Linked DNA regions of Homo sapiens: all the other regions are linked to region 2. Evidence: promoter capture Hi-C in human tissues and cell types (Jung and others, 2019). All regions are on one chromosome and are shown on one strand. Each heading gives the region's core, a stretch centred on a gene start or on the middle of the fragment in contact. The rest is flanking DNA. Distances are from core to core; before and after follow the strand shown. Region 1 overlaps PITPNB (phosphatidylinositol transfer protein beta). Region 2 holds the start of CRYBB1 (crystallin beta B1). Region 3 overlaps PITPNB (phosphatidylinositol transfer protein beta).

Region 1 (3,755 bases), core at 328-2,827, 1.3 Mb before region 2:
TTATAATTAAAAAGCAGTAACTACCATTTTTTGAGCTCATTGTACTGTGCAATGTGCTAAACACATTCCAGTATTTGATTTAATTCTCTTAATAACCCTGCAGAGCAGGTAATAGGAATTCCATTCAACACATGAGGAATTTCAGAGAAGCCAAGTAGCAGGCCTAAGGTCACACAGCTTCCAAATGGTGATGTTGGGATTTGAATTCGATCTGTGTGAAAAGTCTGTGCAAGCAAAACTACTCTTTACAGTAGGCTCCAGTCACTATATCAGTCACTTCATTTGCATTTATTTGAAGACTGTTAAGACTGATTTTCCCATTTGTTTGTTAACAAATAACATTTTCTATTTGTAATGGGCCTGTGGATGACTTTTGCCCCTTTATATGTTGGGATTGTTTCTGATTATCATATGCTTGCACAAGCTTCTCATATATTAATCATGTATTGAACCTTTCTCTTCCTCTGAATATACTTAAGGCAGCAAGTGACATTCATCTCCCATACCTACAAAATTTTATACTTGGATATGCTTTAATTTCTCATTTTCTGCATGGGTCCTTTACATTGTCATTTTTCTTCAGGTCTGTTCTATAAAATGTATTCAGACTTTTATTCAGAGATATCTCCTTATTCTGGGGCTTTTTGCATTAAGAAACAGTATAATGTCATCTAACTCTTAAGAACTACATTGTATTAATGTGCAGATTGAATAGCTGTTAACTCTTAGGTTTTACATTGGGGTAGTAGATCAGAAGTTCTTAAGAAATAATTGCTTCTATTTAAAAAAAAAAAAACCACACACACACACACAAAACCTTTTATACAGTTAATTTTTTTTTTCCTTGTGAGACAAGGTCTTGCTCTTTTGCCCAGGCTAGAGTGCAGTGGTGTGATCTCAGCTTGCTGCAACCTCTATCTCCCAGGTTCAAGTGATCCTCCCACCTGAGCCTCCTGAATAGTTGGGGCTACAGGCATGTGCCACCATGCCTGGCTAGTTTTATATTTTTTGTAGAGACAGGGTTTCACCATGTTGTCCAGGCTAGTCTCAAACTCCTGGGCTCAAGTGATCCTCCTGCCTCAGCCTCTCAAAATGCTAGGATTACAGGCATGAGCCACCATACCCAGCTAAATATTCTTAATCATTTTTATTTAAAATGTAAAAAATTATGTGTTCATTTCTACTGGATTACTTTAGGATTGAAATAAACTAGTTCATCAGACTTAGAACCTGGTCACCTTTGATTGCCATACTCTTTCAAGCAGTTGGATAGATACCAAGAAAGAATTGATGGTGCTGTTAAATATATCCAGTATCTCTCTTCTCCCAGCAAAGTGCCTGCATTCGTGAGGATGATTGCTCCCGAGGGCTCCTTGGTGTTTCATGAGAAAGCCTGGAATGCGTACCCCTACTGTAGAACAAGTAAGCTTGGCCCCCAGCAGCCATTGCACCCCTCCACCCTGAGAATGAGAGGGATTCCCAGTACCAGTGTCTTTGAGAAGGTTTACACTGAGCAAGGTCTTCCTTGGGTTCTTGGATAGTCACTGCTAGAATGATGGCAGAGGAAGGGCTGCATTGGGTTCCTCCCCCTAGAACTTTGTGACAGGCATAAGTTCATTCCCACATGGCAGCCACTTTGGGGTCCTAGCTGACTATGCTGGCTCCAGGGGTAAGCCAAAAGAAAGGTCGTTTACACTCAGAAGGGTGTTTTGGTGTGTTTCAACAGTATTTTACTTAAATTGCTACATAATAGAGGAGGAATAGGACAGACTTCTGAAACAGCATCCTATCATTTGCTAAATTGACCTTATAAATAATGTTTTGCTTTTGTGACATTATTATTCTTTTTAGCATTATTTTTAAAATTAGATTATTGTTCATATTTTATTTGTACTCCATAATCTAATGTACTGTATAGTGTCACTTGTGTGGAAACTGTTTTGCAGACATAAATTACTAAATAAATGTTCTGTTTTCAGATAGTTTAGTCTTTGTGACATTAAGTATTGGGACAGATTGTTTTGACTCCAATTAATATTCTGAAATTTTTCTCCTTTCATTACCTACCTCTCCATTATGCCTCAGTTGTAACGGTGAGTAAAACTATTTTTGTGTCTCATACTTTCTTTATCTTTAAACTTTGTTTTACACAGTAATTATTTTCAACCATTCTTTGCTAACTGCACCTCGCTGCATGGTTCCTTCCTGTGTCCCACCAACCAGCCGCCACACTCTACCACATGTTCCCAGTGTTCATGGGCCCTTTCCACCCTTGTCTCAAAATCTCCCTATTGATTTTATTTTGCTTTTGTTACTCCCTTCAAACGCCATATTTGTTTATCAGACCTCACAGCTTCTTTATTAGCCCGATATGCCACGTGGCAAGTAGAATTGTTTAAATTATTTAAAAGCATGTAGCATTTGGTTTGCCTGACAAGTCTATAAAAATCGGTAGCCAATGATTCTTTGTCACTTGAGTATCAGTCTCCTTGTAGAGTCAAAGCATGGATGCCTATACTGGGAAAAGCTCCCTCAGACGTGGGCACCAAGGAACAGGTAGAAGATCACTGTCATTTTCCTGTTGTGTTTTCTGCAGAATGAATATATGAAAGATGATTTCTTCATTAAAATCGAAACATGGCACAAACCAGACTTGGGAACATTAGAAAATGTAAGTTTCAACTCTGCACTTTTAGTACAAAAGTCCCTGGAAACGAGAATTCTATATGTAGTTCACTTTGTCATCATCAAAGTAATGTCACCTGTGTATCTGACCGCACCAAGCTGTGTCAAATTGAGATGAGGCGGGCAAGCAGCCAGAAACCAAATAGGCTTTCCCTATCAGTCCGCTTGCCTTGACACTTTGGTAAAGTTGCTGTTTTGATCAGCAACTCTCTTTATCCGAGACAAGGAGAGCATGAATAAACAAAATTCACAGATAATCCCCAGCCCAATTTTAGCCATTAGTTTTGCTAATTAGATTGCTTTTATATCTGAGTGTTTGTCAGAGCTGCTCTGCATAGCAGGATTGATTGCTTTAATTTTTACCTCTTGTCTGCTTTGCAAGGGTATGGGCTCATGTTAGAGAAATGGCCAAAAGGCAGGAGGGATAAAGTACTTGAATAACTTACAAAAATGTTGAAAAGCTGTTGACTTATATAAGTTGGTTCACATTTATCTCTTTAAGATTCAAGAACATCTTTGAGTTAGGACTTAAAAAAATGTAATCATTAACTTTTGGTAAGGTTTGTCGTGGAACTTGGGAAGTCCTGTTGTATAGGTTGATGCCCTTGGTCTAGGAGTTCTCAAAAGTGTGGTCTTTGGATGGGCCAGCAGCAGCACAGTATCTGAGGACTTGTTTGAAATGCAAATACTCTGACCTCACCCAAGAACTACCGAACCAGAATCTCTAGGGGTGGGACTCAGCAGTTTCTGTTTTCTGATGCACATTCATTCCAGGAGAGTAGGTTAATGATTGTGGCAAATTCTGTTTTTACTGTTCTATTACGGTGCTCTTACGTTATTGATGCCAGTTAATAGAACTTTGAATTTTAATATGTAGTATTTTACTTGAGTTTTCTTTCAAGTGATCATTTGACATTTTATGTTGTTTTTCTTTTTGTTTTTTTTTTTGAGACAGAGTCTTACTTTGTTGCCCAGGCTGGGGTGCAATCACGTGCTGTCTGCTCAGTGCAACCTCTGCCTCCTGGGTTCAAGCAATTCTCCTGCCTCAGCCTCCCAAGTAGCTGGGACTG
Region 2 (3,771 bases), core at 484-2,983:
AGGCGTCTTGGCCCCAGTTCCAGTGGCTACCCCATCTTGCAGTTCCTGCCCACACCCCACCCACCAAGTCTTGGCCCAGGATGAAAGGCCAAGGAGAGGCTAGGAAGCGAGGGGGTGCTGGGTGGTGGAGGGACAGAGGCAAAGCTGGCTCCAGGCCAGGGAGAGTTCAAGACAGAGCTGGGCTCCACGGGGAGCCTAGAACCCCGAAAAAGAAGAGACAGGAGCCTATCCAGATGCCCCCGCAATATACCCTGCCTGGGACTGGGGAGCCGACTGCAGGTGACCTAGCTGAGCAGCTCCCCAGGCTCCTTCTGACCCCAGCTGTACTGTGAGTTCCCGCCATGTGACTATGTTGAAGTCATTTGTTCCACCTGGGCCTCGGTTTCTCCATTTGTGAAATGGGAGGATTGGGCCCTGTGATTTCTGGCGTCTGTTCCTCCGTCCTGAGGCTTGATCACCCCAACTTGACCTCTGTCTCTCCGTCTCTCGCTCCTTCACTGTCCATGTCCCCTGTGCCTCTCTGTGTCTCTGTCTCCACCTCTCTCTTTGTCTGTTACTTCTATCTGCCTCCTTACTTCTCTCTCCTTGCCTTGGTTTCCCTATCTCCTCCGTACCCTACCTTCTGTTCCGATCCATTGGAACCACCATTGAGTCACCAGTTATTGACTGAGAACCCATGATGTGCCAAGCTCTACCTAGCCAGGCCCAGCTAGGTGCTGGGGCCAGTGGTGAACAAGATGTGGTGGGCATCTGGGGCTTGCCAGGGCAGGAGGCTCTGGGACAGGCAGTCATATTTCTGGCCACCAGCACTGTCCTCCAGGTCAGATAACGTGGCCTGGGTAGAGGCGGGGAACTGGGGTGGCGAGAGGGATCACTGTCGATAGGTCAGGAAAGGATGGGGCCCAATGTGGGGAAAAGAAAAAGACCCAGGTCTCCGATATCCAACCCAGCTGAGCACAGTGCGACTCTCCCATTCCCACCCCAACCTACAAAGAGGAAGTCAGGCCAGGGGGCCTCAGGCCAAGGTCAAGGCTGGACAGCAGGAGAAGAAAGCACACAGGCCCAGAGCTGGCTGGCCTGGGCTGGCTCTGACCTCTCTGTGCCTTCACTTTCCTCTTCTGTGAAATGGGCATAATGAAAGTACCAAATAAGGCAGATTGTCCCGGGGACTGACCGAGATAACACGGGTTCGGCACACAGTAAGCACTCCGTAAAAAAGGCTGTCCATATCAAACCCACATCTGCCTTTACAAAACGCTTCTGTGCTCATTGTCACCTTCTTTTCTATATGGCATCCAACAGGGACACGTGCCCACCTTATAATTGCAGACACAGAGGCCCCCCTAGGGGTAGAGACCTACCAAAAGCCACACAGCGCGCAGTGGCTGAGTCAGGATTCAAACTCTGGTCTCCTGCCTCCCAGGGTCTCCCCTTTTCCCTGCCCCATGTTGGCAGCCAGCAGGGACCCTTTTGGGGGCCCATCCCTGGCTGGGGTTGTTGAGAAAGGAGTCAGGGTAGGGTTGGAAGGTGAAGCTGCTGTGGCCAGGGTTTCTGCTGTGTGTGCTGGTCTCACAAAGGAAAGTGCTGCTGTCTGCAGTGATCCAGGCGAGGTCAGGGCCCCAGTCCCCCACTCCCTGCCCAGGCCTGCTGAGCCAGCTTCCCCTTTGTGCCACAGACTATAGGGCCTGATGTCTGCCAGACTATAAAATGGGGGGTCGGACTCTAGTCACCCATAGCACCTGCCCGCCTGCCTGTCCTCCAGCAGGAAGTAGCAAGTCCCCAGGTAAGAGGGAACCCACAGCCCAGCTGAGAGCTGAAGGGGAGGGGAAGAGAAAAGGGAGACAGAGAGAGGGAGGCAGAGATAGCAGTGCCATGAGAGTCAGAGAGCAGGGCCATGGAGATAAAGACGGAAGTGGAGAGAGGAAGAAAGGGAGGGAGAGGGAGAGGGGAGAGAGTGAGAAAAGACAGAAATAGAGAGAGAAGTAAATATAATTAAAAAGGACAGATAGAGAGATAAGCAAAGATACAATGAGGGAGAGATAGTGGGGGAGAGAGGAACAGAGAGGGAGAGAAACAGACAGGCAGATAGGCAGAAAGAGGGAGAGAAGTAAGAAACAGATAGAGAGGCAAAGACAGGGAAGAGAGGAGGAACAGAGGGAGAGGGTGAAGCAGGGAGAGAGAGAGAATGAGAATATCTCCAGGAAGGCATGAGTCCAGCTGCCAGCCCTGGGGGAGTGTTTAAAGCCACAGATGTGGTCCAGATGTCTGGCCTCACCCCTGGTGAACAGGGGGCACCCCAGAATATGCACAGCCTTCCTGGAGGAGGCTGGGGGAGGGATGTGCTTATCCCAACTAGCTCCGCCTTACAGAATGTGTTCGGGAATCAGCTTGACCAGAGGGTCTTAATCTGTGCTAGCAGGGGGTCCTCAAATCCCTTAACATTGTCTCCAAAGTTAAAGAGAGCATTATTTTTGTCCGGGGACAAAGTTGAGGTATTCATCAAACATTCAAAGGAGTCCACGACCCCAAAGCAACAAGGAACCACTGGAATTGACCAAAGCCCTCTCCACCCAAAGCCTACCCAGCCCCAGTCCTCATTTTCAGAACCCTCCACATGCAGTAAATACATCCTCTTGGGTCCTCCCATAAGCCTCAGTCCCCGGCCTGTATTTGCACCCATACACCAACCCCTCAGAGGAAGCAGACGGGGAAAGGAGCTGGGAGCATGCATTCATTCATTCTCTGAACAAATGTTAATTGGGCATCTCCTATGTGCCAGGTGCAGAGCAAGTGTTAGGGATGGACGGTGAATAAATCAGATTAAGCAAATGGCAGAATACTTTAAAAGCCCAGTTGCTGGCTCCATTTCCTTGAGTTGAAATCAGAGCCCTACCACTTAGTAGCTGTTTGGGCCTGAGCTGGGCCCCTTCCTTCTCCAGCCCCCTGCTGCTCAGAGGGGATCATGATAGCAGCTACTCCATCGGGTGAGGTTCATGGTCAGATGGGTTAATTAATGTATGTCACAGTGCCTGGCACACCTTAAGTACTCCCAAATGGGACTTCTTGTTATTAGTCTAGGGAGGCAAATTGGAGTTGCACAAGCAAATCAGTGTGATAAGCAGTGTGGAAAATTGCAGGGGGCTAAGGAAGGACCTAGCGGGGTAATGGAGGGTGGAACAGCTAGTGGAGGGAACCGCATGGTCAAAAGCCTGGAGGAAGGATATATGTGGGATGAGTGGCCCCCAGACGGGAAGGTCTTGGCTGGGAAGTAGGGATGAAAGAAAAACTTCCAGGCTTAACCGTTTCAGAAGGAGATAGAGAGGAAACGAGCTCCAAGGAGGCTGAAAGCACAGGATGTGGGGCTATGAGGGCAGGAGGCAGTTTGGGGGTGTCATCCCTGAAGGCCAGAGTTTCTTTACAGACTTTTGCAGGCGGGAACCATGTCTCAGGCTGCAAAGGCCTCGGCCTCGGCCACAGTGGCGGTGAACCCAGGGCCTGACACCAAGGGGAAGGGGGCCCCACCTGCAGGAACATCCCCTAGTCCCGGCACTACCCTGGCCCCAACAACCGTGCCTATTACCAGCGCCAAGGCGGCGGAACTGCCTCCTGGGAACTACAGGGTAAGGACCTGGGGGTGCAGTGGCTGGGTGCCATGCCTTCTTTCCTTCCTTCCCTCCTCCTCCTTCTTCTCCTCCTCCTCTTCCTCTTTCACCTCTTACTCCTCCGCACCTCTTTCTCCTCCTTTTTCTTGGCTTATTTTCTCTCCTTTCT
Region 3 (3,742 bases), core at 282-2,781, 1.3 Mb before region 2:
CACCATGCCTGGCTAATTTTGTATTTTTAGTGGAGACGGGGTTTCTCCATGTTGGTCAGGCTGGTCTCGAACTCCCGACCTCAGGTGATCCACCCGCCCTGGCCTCCCAAAGTGTTGGGATTACAGGCATGAGCCACTGCGCCCAGCCAGTAGTTGTTTTTAAATAAAGTGCACACCCTTACTTTATTCATGGAAGTAAGGTAATGTCAAGGTAATAATTTAAATTGCTATAGAAATATAATGCATTTTAAAGACATCTACTAAACTAAATGACAGATCCTTAAAGAAGTCTTAATGTGTTATTGGCAAGTTACTACAGCTAATTTGACAAGAGAAGAGCATAAAAACTTAAACATGCCCAGAGCAGATTTTCCACTCCCAGGGTCTTACTTGGTAACCAGTCTGTCTGTGCTGAAGCCAGTTACAGGTCATCGATAAGTGATGTCTAGGTACTAGTTGCATGCAGATAAGAGGATTACTGTTACAGCCCCACAGAGAACTCATTGAGTGGTTCTCCCTGGGTGTTAGACTGTTTTGTGGACTGTCTTGTGCATCAACTAAAAGGAAAAATGAATTTGACTTTGGTTTATAAGAAATGATTCATAACTATATTATTTTCACATTTGTTCTCTGGGTAGAGTTTAGTTCAGAATTCTCCCAGTTTTAATACTTAGCATGTTAGGCCAATCTTGCATTATTACAAAGAACCTGAGAATGGGTATTATATATAAAGAGGCTTGGGCCAGGTGCAGTGGCTCACGCCTGTAATCCCAGTACTTTGGGAGGCTGAGGTGGGTGGATCACTTGAGGTCAGGAGTTCAATACCAGCCTGGGCAACATGTTGAAACCCCATCTCTACTAAAAATCCAAAAATTAGCTGGGCACGATGGTGCTTGCGTGTAATCCCAGCTACTCAGGAGGCTGAGGCAGGAGAATCACTTGAACCCGGGAGGTAGAGGTTGCAGTGAGCTAAGATTGCACCATTGCACTCCAACCTGGGCGACAGAGTGAGACTCCGTCCCAAAAAAAAAAAAAAAAAAAAAAAAAAAAAACCAGGCTTAATTGGCTCACGGTTCTGCACACTGTATAGGAAGCATAGTGCTGGTATCTGCTTTTGGGGAGGCTTCAGAAAGCTTACAGTCATGGTAGGCAAAGGAGAAGCAGGCGTCTCACATGGTGGAAGTGGGGCAGGGGAAGTGTGCCATGCACTTTTATACAGCCAGATCTCGTGTGAACTCAGAGTGAGAGCTCACTTATCACCAAGGGGATGGCCCAAGCTATTCATGAAGGATCTGCAGTCATGATGCAAACACCTGTTAGAGGCTTTACCTCTAACATTAGGGATTGCATTTCAACATTGGGGATTACATTTCAGCATGAGATTTGAGCAGGGACAAATTCCCAATCTATATTACCCAGAAAGTGATATATACCACTTATAAATTAACAAATTCAGCCTGCTTGATGTAAATTTGCTTTAATGGATTTAGTGTCCCCAGCCTTTTCCAGATTTCTAGCTTCAGACTTTAGAACTCAATCTTAGTTGGAGGAGAAGCCCTTTGAGATTTCACACTGGTCTTCTAAACAAGGACACCATGCCAGAGAGCAGCCCAGATGGTGGCTACCTCCACTGGTGCTGTAACTTCTAAAAAAGTACATCTTGTTCCAGTGAGTAGTAGCTCTAGCTGACAATACTTTTACAGGGAGTAAAGGGGCATGAGGTTGAGACCCAGAGGTGAATTAAATATTGTATTTTCTTGAAATTATTAGCTTTTCAAGTATAAACATTAAAAGACAATGCTACATTATGTGGTGGGCTTTATGTTTGGGCTCAGATCCTTCCTATAGGAACTCCTGATTTTATAACAGGCAGCAAAAGTAGTTTGATACTATGACTTGTACTGATTTCTAACTTTTTAGGAACTTGGAATATATACCATGTCTGGCCTGATTTGTAACTGATATTGCTTTGTCTTTTATTATTGACTAATGATTGAAATTCTAGAATAGGTTTAGTTCTTAGAAATAATGTGAATTTTGTATTTCTGCAGATTGCAGAACTGCAGTTTTTTTCCATTTTCCCCCCTGTGTTAAACAGTAACTTATTAGGCTGATAGGGTGCTGGTTGTTTCTGCCCATTTGCCTGTTGATTGTTCATTTTATCCAGATGATGGTGTATCCAGCTACTCTTATAAATTCAGCTACTGCCTGACTGAATTTCTGTGAATTACTGTGATCTCAGAAATAACTAGTGCAGTCAAGAATAACTGATAATAATTAAGCCATCCACTTGCTGCTGTGGAGGGAAATAAAGCGTAAGAAGATAGCTGATAATATGGCATACAGGAAAATAGGAACCTTTGGACTTGATCTTACCAGTGTCTTCTGTAAACATGTTCAGCAGGCCCTCTTTGCCAATTACTGTCCTGGTGGAGGCACTGAGGGTAGCACTGGGGAACGATAATAGTTGGAAATTTTTATACTTCTGAAATGCAAGGAAGAAATAGGGAACAAACATGATAATTATGGCTGAAAGGAAGAAGAAATCTTATTGTGGACCCACTTAACCAGGGTAGTGTTGAAGAATGTTCTTATAGAAGAGCTGCCTGGTAGTTCCACAGTCTCTCTCTCAAAAGGCCTCTGTGAACCATCCCACACATACCCTTCAGCAGAAACCTGCCTTACCAGTACAGATTCCAAAGTCTATTCAAAGCTAAATGCAAATCCTATGATTTCTTTGAAACTTTTCCTTACTTGTCTGATGGTGGTATTTTCCCTCTGAATTATTGCAGTATTTACTTCCTGTCTGCACCAGACTGACTAGGGGTAAAGAAACTTTTCCTTGGTACCAGGTACTATACAAGGTTACATTTAATCTTTACAACCTTCCTGTGGTGTAAGTTCAGCTGCTTTATTTTATATAGTTGAGAAACTTGGGCAGAGAAACACATGTAATAGTTGTAGGAGAAACAGCAGAATGTCTGCCATTTCTGGAACACCTGATTCGGTGGTAGTTACAGCAGTGTGTAAGGTATGGAGATGTAGCAGATTTTAACTCTTAATCCAGTGACTCCTAGATCACCGTTCTGTACCTTTTATGCCCTGTTGCATCATTGGCAATTGTGTGATGCCCTATTCATGGTATTTGCCAGAATTTGATAATTTCTGTTACACTAGTGGTACGTTTTCAATGGTCAGGGAATCTGTAAGTGTCGGAGGCACTAAGGGAGATCCATTAAAAAGCCACTGGGAATCTACACAAGTTATAACTTAACCCTCACTCTGAGCCTTGATTTCCACATCTCCAAAATGGAAATGATTTTAGTAACTACCTCAGAAGGTAGTTGTAAAGACTGAGTGAAATAATGTTAAGTTCCCAGCACAGAAGAAGTGCACAATCAATGTTAACCGTTATTGTTATAATGCTTTTGTCTTTCGTCTCTTGGGGTTGCTGAGATCTATAAATGTGCCCCTGTATTTATGATGCGTAATTCTTATCTGTCTAGTATTCAGAGTTCCCCTCATTCTAGAATGTGTTCCCCTCATTCTGGTATCTAGGGATTGTTAAACACATCCGGGTTCACGTGTCTTTACCCCTCGTGGTTATATATGTTTAATGAGTGATTTTATTTGGTCATGCATAAAGCAGAGAGCCACACAGTTTAGAGAGGATTCACTAGCAGGGGATGATGAGGTTGCTAAGGAATATATTTTCATATTTTCCACATTTGTTAAGAGTACA

The links. Contacts are between HindIII fragments. The study calls those that stand out against the background at their distance.
Region 1: a fragment that was not itself captured here is called in contact with the fragment with the promoter of CRYBB1 in region 2 in 1 of the 25 tissues and cell types used here (lymphoblastoid cells).
Region 3: a contact is called between a fragment that was not itself captured here and the fragment with the promoter of CRYBB1 in region 2, in 1 of the 25 tissues and cell types used here (lymphoblastoid cells).

Annotation. Positions count from the first base shown.
Region 1 is chr22:27,895,468-27,899,222 of GRCh38, reverse strand. PITPNB (phosphatidylinositol transfer protein beta) reads left to right here. Exons shown (of 12, transcript NM_012399.5): 4 at 1,331-1,422; 5 at 2,086-2,093; 6 at 2,597-2,671. Among named protein-coding and RNA genes, the nearest start is that of PITPNB, 22 kb to the left of the region's middle. RefSeq lists an enhancer at 3,247-3,296. The HindIII fragment of the contact is 4,356 bases long and covers 1-3,755 here.
Region 2 is chr22:26,615,989-26,619,759 of GRCh38, reverse strand. It overlaps CRYBB1 (crystallin beta B1), which reads left to right and starts at 1,733. Exons shown (of 6, transcript NM_001887.4): 1 at 1,733-1,783; 2 at 3,422-3,620. The coding sequence starts at 3,441. It also overlaps a transcript of CRYBA4 not described here. RefSeq lists enhancers at 648-1,323, 2,002-2,679. The HindIII fragment of the contact is 18,434 bases long and covers 1-3,771 here.
Region 3 is chr22:27,869,392-27,873,133 of GRCh38, reverse strand. The region is part of intron 8 of PITPNB (phosphatidylinositol transfer protein beta); the gene reads left to right. Among named protein-coding and RNA genes, the nearest start is that of PITPNB, 48 kb to the left of the region's middle. The HindIII fragment of the contact is 6,796 bases long and covers 1-3,742 here.